Regions from separate parts of the Homo sapiens genome. Here region 2 is linked to region 1. The links are contacts of gene promoters, found by promoter capture Hi-C in blood cells and fetal thymus (Javierre and others, 2016). All regions are on one chromosome and are shown on one strand. The core of a region is centred on a gene start or on the middle of the fragment in contact, and the rest is flanking DNA. Distances in the headings are between cores, read along the strand shown. Region 1 holds the start of SOD3 (superoxide dismutase 3). Region 2 has its middle 22 kb from the start of MIR573.

What was found. Contacts are between HindIII fragments. The CHiCAGO score rates a contact against its expected background, and 5 or more counts as called.
Region 2: a fragment that was not itself captured here is called in contact with the fragment with the promoter of SOD3 in region 1 in 2 of 17 cell types (endothelial precursors and M2 macrophages); the score reaches 6.6 in endothelial precursors.

Annotation. Positions count from the first base shown.
Region 1 is chr4:24,793,338-24,798,659 of GRCh38, reverse strand. SOD3 (superoxide dismutase 3) reads right to left here and starts at 3,087. Exons shown (of 2, transcript NM_003102.4): 1 at 3,009-3,087. The HindIII fragment of the contact is 8,707 bases long and covers 1-4,201 here.
Region 2 is chr4:24,495,692-24,501,013 of GRCh38, reverse strand. No RefSeq gene overlaps it. Among named protein-coding and RNA genes, the nearest start is that of MIR573, 22 kb to the left of the region's middle. RefSeq lists enhancers at 1-144, 145-746. The HindIII fragment of the contact is 3,560 bases long and covers 1,410-4,969 here.

The DNA of each region.
Region 1 (5,322 bases), core at 1,838-4,337:
GAGATAGTCTTTAGTTCCTTAAGTCCTACTGGTAAAAGGATATGGGTTGGACTTTGGGATGAAGAGGAAAGGGGAGGAAGAATGGGAGTAGCCTAGGGAGAGACAGAGAAGCAGAAATAGAGACAGTGAGATGAGTTAGGGGGCGTTGTAGTAACCCAAGCAGGAAATGAAGGCTTTTACCAAAGTGCAGGTGGTGCACACAGAGGAGGCATGGGTTTAAGAGACACACCGGGCAGCACTGGCAGGATGGAAGATGAAGGCACAGTGCAGATGACCAGGGTTCCCAGCAGGAGAGACTGAGTGGAGGGAGGGTGGGACCTGTTCTGGAAAAGCAGGGAGAGAGGATTAGTTCAGCTGGAGTCTCCTGAGGGTGAGACGCTGGCGGGTGCCCAGGTGGGAAGACAGGTGGGCAGACAGTCGGAAACTTGGGTCTGGCACTTAGAAGAGGAGATGAAGCTGGCAGGGGTTCTCAGTGTTGACTGCACATCAGATGTCTGGTTTTTAAAAATCAGATGCCCAGGCCCCACCCCAAGAGATTTTGATTCTGTGAGAAAGAAAGGAGAGAAGAAAGACAGAGAGAGAGGAAGGAAGGGAAAGAAAGAGGAAAGAAAGAAAAGAAAAGAAAGAAGACACCTCTATCAAAGATTCTGGGGCCCAGCTAGGAATTATAAAGTCAGGTACAGATTTGAATCCCAATTCCAACCTATACTAACTGTGACTTCACGGGGTTACTGATGCTTAGCTTCAAGTTCCTTACCTGTAGAATAAGGCCAGCCATGCCACCGAGGTATTTCCAGAGGGATTGATGCTGCCTCCAAAGAATTGCTTTGAAGGTCAACTGCATTTCCAGCACCAAACTAGGTGCCATTTAAAAAACTCCAAGATTGGGTAGATATGCTTTATATAACCATTTCAGAAAGGCAATTTAGTGTGGTTATTAAAGGGATGGATTCCAGAACTCACCTCATGAATCTAAAGCCTGACTCTGCCACTTAGTCTAAGGGTTAGCTGTTACTATTTTTATTGCTGAGTAGCAGAGTAATTGCTGGACTGCAGACTGTACACTGTCTCATCCCCTGTGAACCTCAGTTTTCTCATCTGTAAATAGGGATACTAATACAGACTTACCTTAGAGGCTTGCTGCGAGGCTTAAAAGAGATGATTAGAATTGCTAAAACTTATCGAACACAGGCGCCAGACACTATTATAAGTACTGTGCGTGGGTTAATTCCCTGCATCCTCACAAGAACATTATTCAGTGTTATCCCCATTCTAAAGTGTAGGAAACTGAGGCACAGAGAGGCGTGTGTCCCGCCCAAGGTGACATGTTCACTAAGGAGCTGAAGGCAGGATTTGAAAGTGTGTGTCTGCTCCAAGCCCAAGGTTTAGGCACCACACTGCACATCTCTCATCTAGGGCACTTAGCACAGAGCCCAGTACATAGAAAGTTCCCAGTAAATGGCAGCTCTTAGCTATCAGAGAGAGCTGCTGGTAGAGATTTTAAGGACCATTAGCTAAGAGATGCTATGGACACTGTGAGAGGAGGTCCCCTTGAAAGGCTCCAAGAAGGAGGATCCAGAAAGAGGGAGAAGCAGAGAAAGTGATGTTGAAGGACTCACCTAAATGACATGGCCCAATGTGGTACTACTACCCCAAAGCCCCAGGGAGTAGGCAGGAAAGTGGGGTAACTCTCCTGCCAGACCTGGACATGAAGTTCCCCATCATCAAAGACACCTTCCTCCTAAGACAGCCCTGCCACTCAGAAGGGCTCTGCTGCTTAGAAAGTTCTCCCTAAAAGCACAGAGCAAAACCAGATTGTTTTGGGTGTGTCAGTGAGCTTTCTTTTTCAAGAATCCTTGGGAAATAAACATTTTAAGGAGATGTTTTTCTCTGAAACCAAAAGAAGAGCCAGGCATGGTGGCTTATGCCTGTAATCCCACCCCTTTGGGAGGATGAGACAGGAGAATCATTTGAGTACAAGAGTATGAGACCAACCTGGTAGAGACCCCCATCTCTAGCAAAAAAAAAAAAAAAAAATAGCTGGGTGTGGTGGCATGTGCCTGTAGTCCCAGTTACTCAGGAGGTTGAGGTAGGAGGATCGCTTGAGCCCGGGAGGTAGAGGCTGTAGTGAGCCGTGATAGTGATCGTGCCACTACATTCCAGCCTGGGTGCTGGGTGACAGAATGAGACCATGTCTCAAAAAAAAAAAAAAAAAAAAAAAAAAGAGAAGAAGGAGGAGGAGGAGGAAAAGGGGGAAAGAAAATTCTCCCTCAAACCCAGGTAAACTCTGACTTCTTGTTTCTTAAGCCTTTGACACCTCTTCCCCTCGGGACCAACTTGATTCTTCTCCCACAGCCTCTTGCTCAGTTTGAGCTGTGAATGACCAAGTGCCTTTTTAAGGGCCTCCTTTGTACGTGGATCTGGAAGGGAGGACGGTGTTATCAGAGAAAGAGGACAGTGTTATCAGAGAAAGAGGACAGGGGCCCTTATCCTGAACCAAATAGAGGCACCAAGCCTTTATCTCCTTCCTGGGTCTGTATCTGGGAAGAACCTGCCCCTCTTGAGCCTTGGGTGTGTTTCATCCCTCAGCTGTCTCCTAGAAGGAGCTCTTGCTGGGAGCCTGAGCTGGCCAGGGCCTCTCTGCTTTCCTAAGGAGGTGGCTTTTTAGAGTACCTGCTGTCCCATAAGTGGCTCCCGACACCAAAGCCATGCAACATCTAGAAAGGCCCCCTTTCTCGTCACTCCAGATTCCTTTTCCTAACACTAAAATCCTCTTGGACTGGTCTTTGCAGATCCACAGGAGGAACGGTTTCTTCCTCCCCTCCTTGCCTTCCTCCCCGCTCACTCCACCTCCCCACTAACCCCTCAGAGCAGCCAGGGAAAGTACATTTCCTTCCCAAGAAGATGATCCAATTTGTTCCCAAGAAGAGGCCCGTTGCCCCAACCCAGCTTCAGACTCAATAAGCACACTCCGAGAAGAACAAAATGAACCTCAACTTAGCACCCACCTTTCCAGCTCCTCCAAGAGAGCTTTCTCTCCTGAAAAGAGAGCTGCACCCAGCCAGCCCAGGAACGCAGGCTGTCCCTGGAGCCTGGGCTGTTAGCGCGAGTGCAGGAGGCCAGCCCAGAGGAGTGGTCAGCGTGAGGGAGCCAGTCATTGGGCCAGTTCAGGGAGGAAAAGCAGGCCAGACCTCCCCGGGTTGTAGAATTGCTTCGCCTCCACCTCCTCCCGCTCTGTCCCCACCTCCTCTGCCCCTCCCATTTTTGGGTTTTCGGGCCAAGGATTCCATTCCGCGACTTCACCGGCTTGTAGCCAGTGACCTTCAGCACACAGCAGGGGAATAAAAATGAGAAAGAAAATCGCCTGTTTGGAGAGGTGTACAATGACCTCTTTATTGAGAGGCCCTTTGCTTTTCTGTAAGTCAATAACTTATTGACTTATTTTTGCTGCATGGAAATGGGCACCTTGCAAATGTGCGTGGCATTTGCTCCAGAGCTGTGCTGTCATACCTATGAGAGCAGAGCAGCGGGTGGGTCGTGATGACACACTCAGGCTGCAGAGTCCCAGCCTTGTCACTTCCTATCTGTGTACGCCTGAAGCAGCTGCACCACTCCCTGCACCTCCTTTTCATCATCTGTAAAATGGGGGTGTGAGGCTGTCCACCCCGCACGCCCACCGTGAAGATCCAATGAGATCATTACTCGCCCAGTGACAACACAGTGGCTGGCACTAGCCGCACTCATAAGTAATCATCATTGTCATTGTCGTTACCGTTATTATTAAAGAGATGAAGGAGTCTTTTTAAAAAATGTGTTGTCTGGGAGAACTAGGAGTGTTTCCCTCCCGACGTCTGTCCTTTTTTTGCTGCCATGAACTTTTCTCAATCATAGCAGCCCTTTCCAAAAATAGAAGCTCTTCTTTCCCAGAAAAGCCCATGTGGGAAAAACCAGGCAGCCTGCTTGCTGGCCTGCCCGTCCTCCTGCATTCCTGCAACAAATGTTTATTGGGTGCTCATCCATTCCAGTCACCATGCTGTATGCCGGGCACCCACAGCTGCATGAGTCACCTTGGGGGTTCATACTCTGGGGACGGAGACAACAACGTCAGTAAATGCATCCAGTACAGAGTGGGGAGCGCAGCGACGAAGAATGAACAGGGCCTCGTGAGGTCCCAAACACCCGTTTCGGTGGCAGGAAAGCTTATAAAAAATCTAAATCTCTGGATCCCACCCCAGGATGGGTGACTTAGTTACCAGCAGGAGCTTCCTAGAATCATCTTGGAAAAACTCAAACTAATGATCTTTATCCAGGGACAGGCATTCTGCGAGATAAGAGGGAGACTTCCCAGAACTGAGACTCCAGCCCTTCCACCCTACCGTCCTTCCTTCTGGCCCGCTGAGAACTCAGGCACCAGTAGCTCAGTCTTGCACCTCTGCATTCTGTTGGTAGGCGTAGTTATCCTCAACTAATGAGTTTTCAGAGTTCCCCATGCCACCCACCACCCCACCCCCACCCTGCAACAGTCTAGTTCCTTATTGTGAATCTTTCTTCCCATTTTTAAAACATTTATATTTTCATTCAGTTCTTGAAATCCTAATTATATACATTCATAGCTACTATTTTAAATGGCACTTGCTTCACTTGGCCTAATTTTATTTCGTTTAAGGTCCAAGAAAGCACGTCTCCGTTCTGGTATTCTAGGACTTGTGCTAAAGCCTAGATTTACTTTCATTTTGATGGCATTCTAGAGGAAATCTGCCTTTTTCTCGCCACCGCCCCCAACCTCCCCACCATGGCAACATTCATTCCCTCTTCCTTTGGTAACAACATCCCAATTTCCTTTCTGAGAAACCACTATACTTTCAGTCCAGCAGGTGGTGTTGACTTCATCTCCTGCTCCAGAGGTAGCTTGTGGCTTAGGTATGATAAATCGTACTATTGCACTGGTTCAGGGATGATCCACCTTCAGAGCCAATGAGATGCAATGCCACTTTTCACTGGGACTGTTGAAAGAGATGCATCCTCTCTTTCTTACTGGACTTGAAACTGGAGAAAAAAGGCTGGAGTTATTGCAGCCATCATGCTCCACTAAGGGAGAAGCTGTCTGAGGATAAGGCCAATGCAGAAGGCTGTGGAATAAAAGTAGAGTGAGAGCTCAGTGCAGTGGTATACGCATGTGTAGTCCCAGCTACTAGGAAGGCTAAGGCAGGAAGGTTGCTTGAGCCCAGGAATTCAAGGCTATAGTGTGCTATGATCACTTCTGTGAATATTCCACTGCACTCCAGCCTGGGCAATGTAGCAAGACCCTGTCTCTAAAAAAAA
Region 2 (5,322 bases), core at 1,940-4,439, 300 kb after region 1:
GGGGATGCGATGGCTTGGCTTGGGCTCAGAGGCCTGACACCTGGGAGGCAGAGGTTGCAGTGAGCCAAGATTGCACCACTGCACTCCAGCCTGGGCGACAGAGCTAGACTCCGTCTCAAAAAAAAAAAAAAAAAGAAAGACTCATCCAGGACTTCAACAAGGGCACTGAGACATAGTCCTTCTCCTCCTCTTGCCTCTGCTTTCCTCTGTGTTGGCTTTGTTTTCAGGCTCCTCTTAGGGACACCAGTAATCATCTACTTCATTGCCAGCTGTCTCAGCTGAAAAGACAGAGGCTCTTCCTGGGAGCCCCGGTCCTGGGATGCATCAGCTGAGGTCTGCACTTGCCCCTGAGCCAAGCACTTCAGCCAGGGAGCTGGAACTTTGCTGACTGCCAGGCTGGGTCCTGCACCTCACTCTGGACAGGGGTAGAGCCCCACATGACTCATATGACCTGAGAGGAAGGGAGAAGGGGTTCCTTAAAGGAATATGGAGTGCCGCTGTTTCTGGCTCTGGAGCCAGGCAGTGGGATTTTGGGCAATTCATCTCACAATGCCTGTTTCCTCATGCATAAAATAGGAAGAACAATAATAATAGTATTCAACACACAGCGATGTTCTGAGTGCTGGAAGTATCTTAGCCCATTCAGGCTGCTATAATAAGACACCATAAACAGGTGGCTGATAAACAACAGAAATGTGTCCTAGTTCTGGAGGCTGGGAAGTCCAAGATTGAGGCACTGGCAGATTCAGTGCCTGCTTTCTGGTTTTTGCATGGCACCTTCTCACTGTGTCCTCATGTGGTGGAAGTGGCAAGCTAGCCCTCTGAGGCCACTTTTATTAGGGCACTAATCCCATGAATGTGGGCTCCCCTGTCACGATCTAATTCACCTCCCAAAGGCCCCACCTACCTCCTAATATTTAATATTAACACCTTGGGGGTTAGACTTTCAACATGTAAATTTTGGCAGGGGACACAAACATTCAGACCATAGCATAGAGTTAACACAATGTACTTAGAACATTCACCAATCCATGTAAAGTACTCCATAAATGCTTGCTATTAGTACAGCAAGCTCAATTTTTTTTTTTTTTTTTGAGACAGAATCTCAGTCTCACTCTGTCTCACAGGGTGGAGTCCAGTGGCGTGATCTCAGCTCACTGCAACCTCCATCCCCCTGGTTCAAGCAATCCTCCCACCTTGGCCTCCCCGGTAGCTGGGATTACAGGCATGTGCCACCACACCTGGCTAATTTTTATATTTTTTGTGGAGACTGGGGTTTCCCCATGTTGGCCAGGCTGGTCTCGAACTCCTGACCTCAAGTGATCTCCCTGCCTTGGCCTCCCAAATTGTTGGGACTGCAGGCGTGAGCCACCGCGCCCAGCCTCGATATTTTTGATACTGTAGAAGCTTTCCCTCCAACAGATTGGAACTGGTTGGTTAGTTAATAAAATGATGAATCTTTAAAAGTGTTACGCTCCTTCCATATTTAAGTTTAAAAGCATAAATAGGCCTGAGGCCATCTGGCAGGGCTGGGAGGAGGGCGAGGCAGGTCAGAAATAAGAGCACAACATTTAATGAGGCGCTTGCTCTCAGGTGCTGACCCTGCACTTGCATGGTCCTGAGGGCAGTGCCTTCTTAACCTTTGCACTCTAGGTGCCTCTCTTCTTGCCTTTCTGCTTTGCCATCTAGGTCTGTTGAGTAGCATTCCTTGTCTATCTTGTCTAAACCACACCCTGAAATAATTCATCTATAACCTCCAGTTTCAGTTTTTTAAAATTCCAGGAAGAACTTACAGACATTTGCAAAGCAGAATCCCGTATTCGTACCATTTTCTCCAATAGTTGATGGTTGTCTGGCCCATGCCAAATTCAACAGCATTTGTTTGAAGCAACTTGCATCTATTCAGTCATGCCAAAACATTCAACTTGGTTTTCATAGGAGCAAGAACTTCTTTTCCCATTCTTTTTTTTTTTTTTTTTCCTTTTCTGAGATAGAGTTTTGTTCTTGTCGCCCAGGCAACACTCCATGCATGTCACTCCATGCAATGGTGCAGTCGAGGCTCACTGCAACCTCCGCCTACCCAGTTCAAGCAATTCTTCTGCCTCAGCCTCCTGAATAGCTGGGATTACAGGCAATCACCACCACACCTGGCTAATTTTATATTTTTAGTAGAGACGGGGTTTCACCATGTTGGCCAGGCTAGTTTTGAACTCCTGACCTCAGGTAATCCACCTGCCTCAGCCTCCCGAAGTGATGGGATTACAGGCATGAACCACCATGCCCAGCTTCCCATTCATTTTTAAATAGGTTTTACAACATGTAATTAAACCGTAGAAGCAAATAAGTATAACTAGCATAGAAGCTCCTTGAGGACAGGACTTCTCTGTTCTTTATCACTGCAGTGTCTCCAGAGCTTAAAACAGTGTGTACACATCATAGGCGCTCAGATGTCTGTGCATGAATGAATAAACTGGCTTTGACAGGTTTGGGGAGCAAAGGGTTAATTCAATATGTGGGAATCCATGGACAAAGTCAGGTGGAGCCTGCCAGCTTCAGGTGTTTCAGGGGTCATGGGAATCATCATCATTTACAGAAGTCTACATGGTTTACAGTGAATCCAGCAGGGTAGTTAAGAGACGGTCAGTTGTGAAAGCTACTACCACATCATAAGTAAATATTTAAGGGAAGGATCCAGAAACATCTGTTTGTCTCTTTTGGGGAACAGGTGTGTCTTGGAGGGAGGGTATGGTAAGGGGGATGGCATTTGCATTTCAGCAGGTGAACATGCATCATTTGAAAAAACCTATTTAACATAATTATCATATTTTAAAAATACGATAAATGAAAAATACCTACTGCTTTCATAACACATTATAGAAAGTGAAGCTCAAGAAAATATAGTAGTGGGAACAGGCAGAAGCAGCAGCAATTCTAGACAGTAAGTCCCATGAAGGCAGCATATTATTGATGCCTGGCAAATTGTCCTGACTTAATCAATATTGTGGGAGAAAACAGATTCTCAATAAGAAGTGTACCTCTTAAGGGCAATGTAACTATGAAGGTGTAGGCTTGGAAAATGTCATTTCCCAATCAATATTTTAAAAGGCATCTTTTTAAAATATTGAAAAACCGTGTTTTAAAAACATAGCAATGTTTTTGGCTAGGCGCAGTGTCTCATGCCTATAGTCTCAGCACTTTGGGAGGCTAAGGCAGGTGGATCTCCTGAGGTCAGGGGTTCAAGACCAGCCTGGCCAACATGGCAAAAACCCATCTTTACTAAAAACACAAAAATTAGCCAGGTGTGGTGGTAGGTGCCTGTAATCTTAGCTAATTGGGAGGCTGAGGCAGGAGAATCCCTTGAACCTGGGAGGCGGAGGTTGCAGTGAGCTGAGATCGCACCACTGTACTCCAGCCTGGGCGACAAGAGGAAGACTCTGTCTCAAAATAAATAAATAAATAAAAATAAAAATAAAAACATAGCAATGGTTGTTCCAAATAAATCACAACAGGATTCTTTTTGGGTGCTTTCCCAATGTTATTTCCTCAGTGGGATTTTGTGGTCAGTTGATTCACCGGGTGAGTAAAGCTGATTTTTAGACTAACCACGGGGAATAGTTCCACGGGATGGAATTGCATTAGCATTTTGGCTCATGGAAATAGATGCGTATGGTAAGGTTCATAGAGACTGCAGCCTTTCACTGACCAAACAATTGATTGTATTTGTAGCCAATTTAAACTGGAGTATTTTCTGGAAGAGTCGGAGACTATGATGCTACACCATCCATTGCACAAACATTAGCCACAAAATGGTGGAAGTCACTTGGTCTGGCCTCCGCAAGGAGTCAGTCCTGGTCATTTCCTCCCGGCTGCCTCCGGTGGAAGGATATTCCACACACAGCTCCGTGGTATTTGTAGCACAAGCCCAAGTTTGATTATCCTAGTGGTAATTTCAAGTTCTTTGTTTCCTACCCTCCTTTTTAAACCTATTTCTTCCTAATCAGTTTCCTGAGGATATGAAACCTATTCCTTACACAAACCAGTTGAGCTCAATTTTTCCTTATCTAGGCTAAACCCCATTTTTGTGACTTTTCCAGAGATATTAAAATAAGCAATAACCACAAAACCAACAGCACCAAAACTAGCTGCATCTTTAGGACGGCACTGTGTTCTTCCTTGTTTTTCTTCTTTGCACGTGCTGTTCCCTCTGCTGCTGGGTGTGCACCCTTTAAACCTGCATCTCCCTGGGCTAATCACCGTGCCAACTCAACTCCTGCTCGTGCCTAAAGACTTACCTCAGTTAAAGAGCGATGCTCCAGACAACCGCCCTTGCTCCCCACACCAACAGAGGAAATTATTTTTATTTATTTATTTATTTTTGAGACAGAGTCTCACTCTGTCACCCAGACTTAAGTGCAGTAGGGTGATCTCGGCTCACTACAACCCCTGCCTCCCAGGTTCGAGCGATTCTGGTGCCTTAGCCTCCTGAGTAGCTGGGATTTCAAGTGCATGCCACCGCGCCCATTTAATTTTTGTATTTTTAGTAGAGATGGGGTTTTGCCATGTTGGGCAGGCTGGTCTTGAACTCCTGAACTCAGGTGATTCACCCTCCTCGGCCTCCCAAAGTGCTGGGATTACAGGTGTGAGCCACCATGACTGGCCATGTACTTTCGAAATATATAAAAAATGTTGATAAGATGCAGAGAAGAAAAATAAAATGCTGTCAAAAAACTGGACAATAAGACCTACCACTTACCCAGCCATCCAAACACCCATCTCTGAAACACACGTCAAGTCTTTGTGCCAGGTGCTGTGTGAAGTTCAGAGACATACAGGGACAAAAACAGTGTTTTGTAAAATGAGAATCTCAACTTGTCAAATAATTACATCAATAATTATGTACATCAACCTCTATCAAATAATTACATTGCTTGGTACGGGTCCTGTGATGGTTAATTTTTATATGTAAGCTTGGCTAGGCCCCAGTGCTCAGATATATAGTCAAACATTATTCCAGATGTTTCTGTGAAGGTATATGTTAGTTGAGATTTAACATTTAAATCAGTAGACTGTGAATAAGGAGATTACCCTCCATAATGTAGGTGAGCCTCATCTAACCAGGTGAAGGCCTTAAGAGAAAAAGACTGACCTCTCTGAGGGAGAAGGAATCCTGCTGGCTGATGGTCTTTGGACTTGAACTGCAATTCTTCCCTGGATCTCCAGGCTGCTGGCCTACCCTGCAGATTTTGGATTTCGCACTTGTCAGCTTCCACAATCATGTGAGCCAGTTCCTTAAAATCAATGTTTCTCTCAATCTCTTTCTTT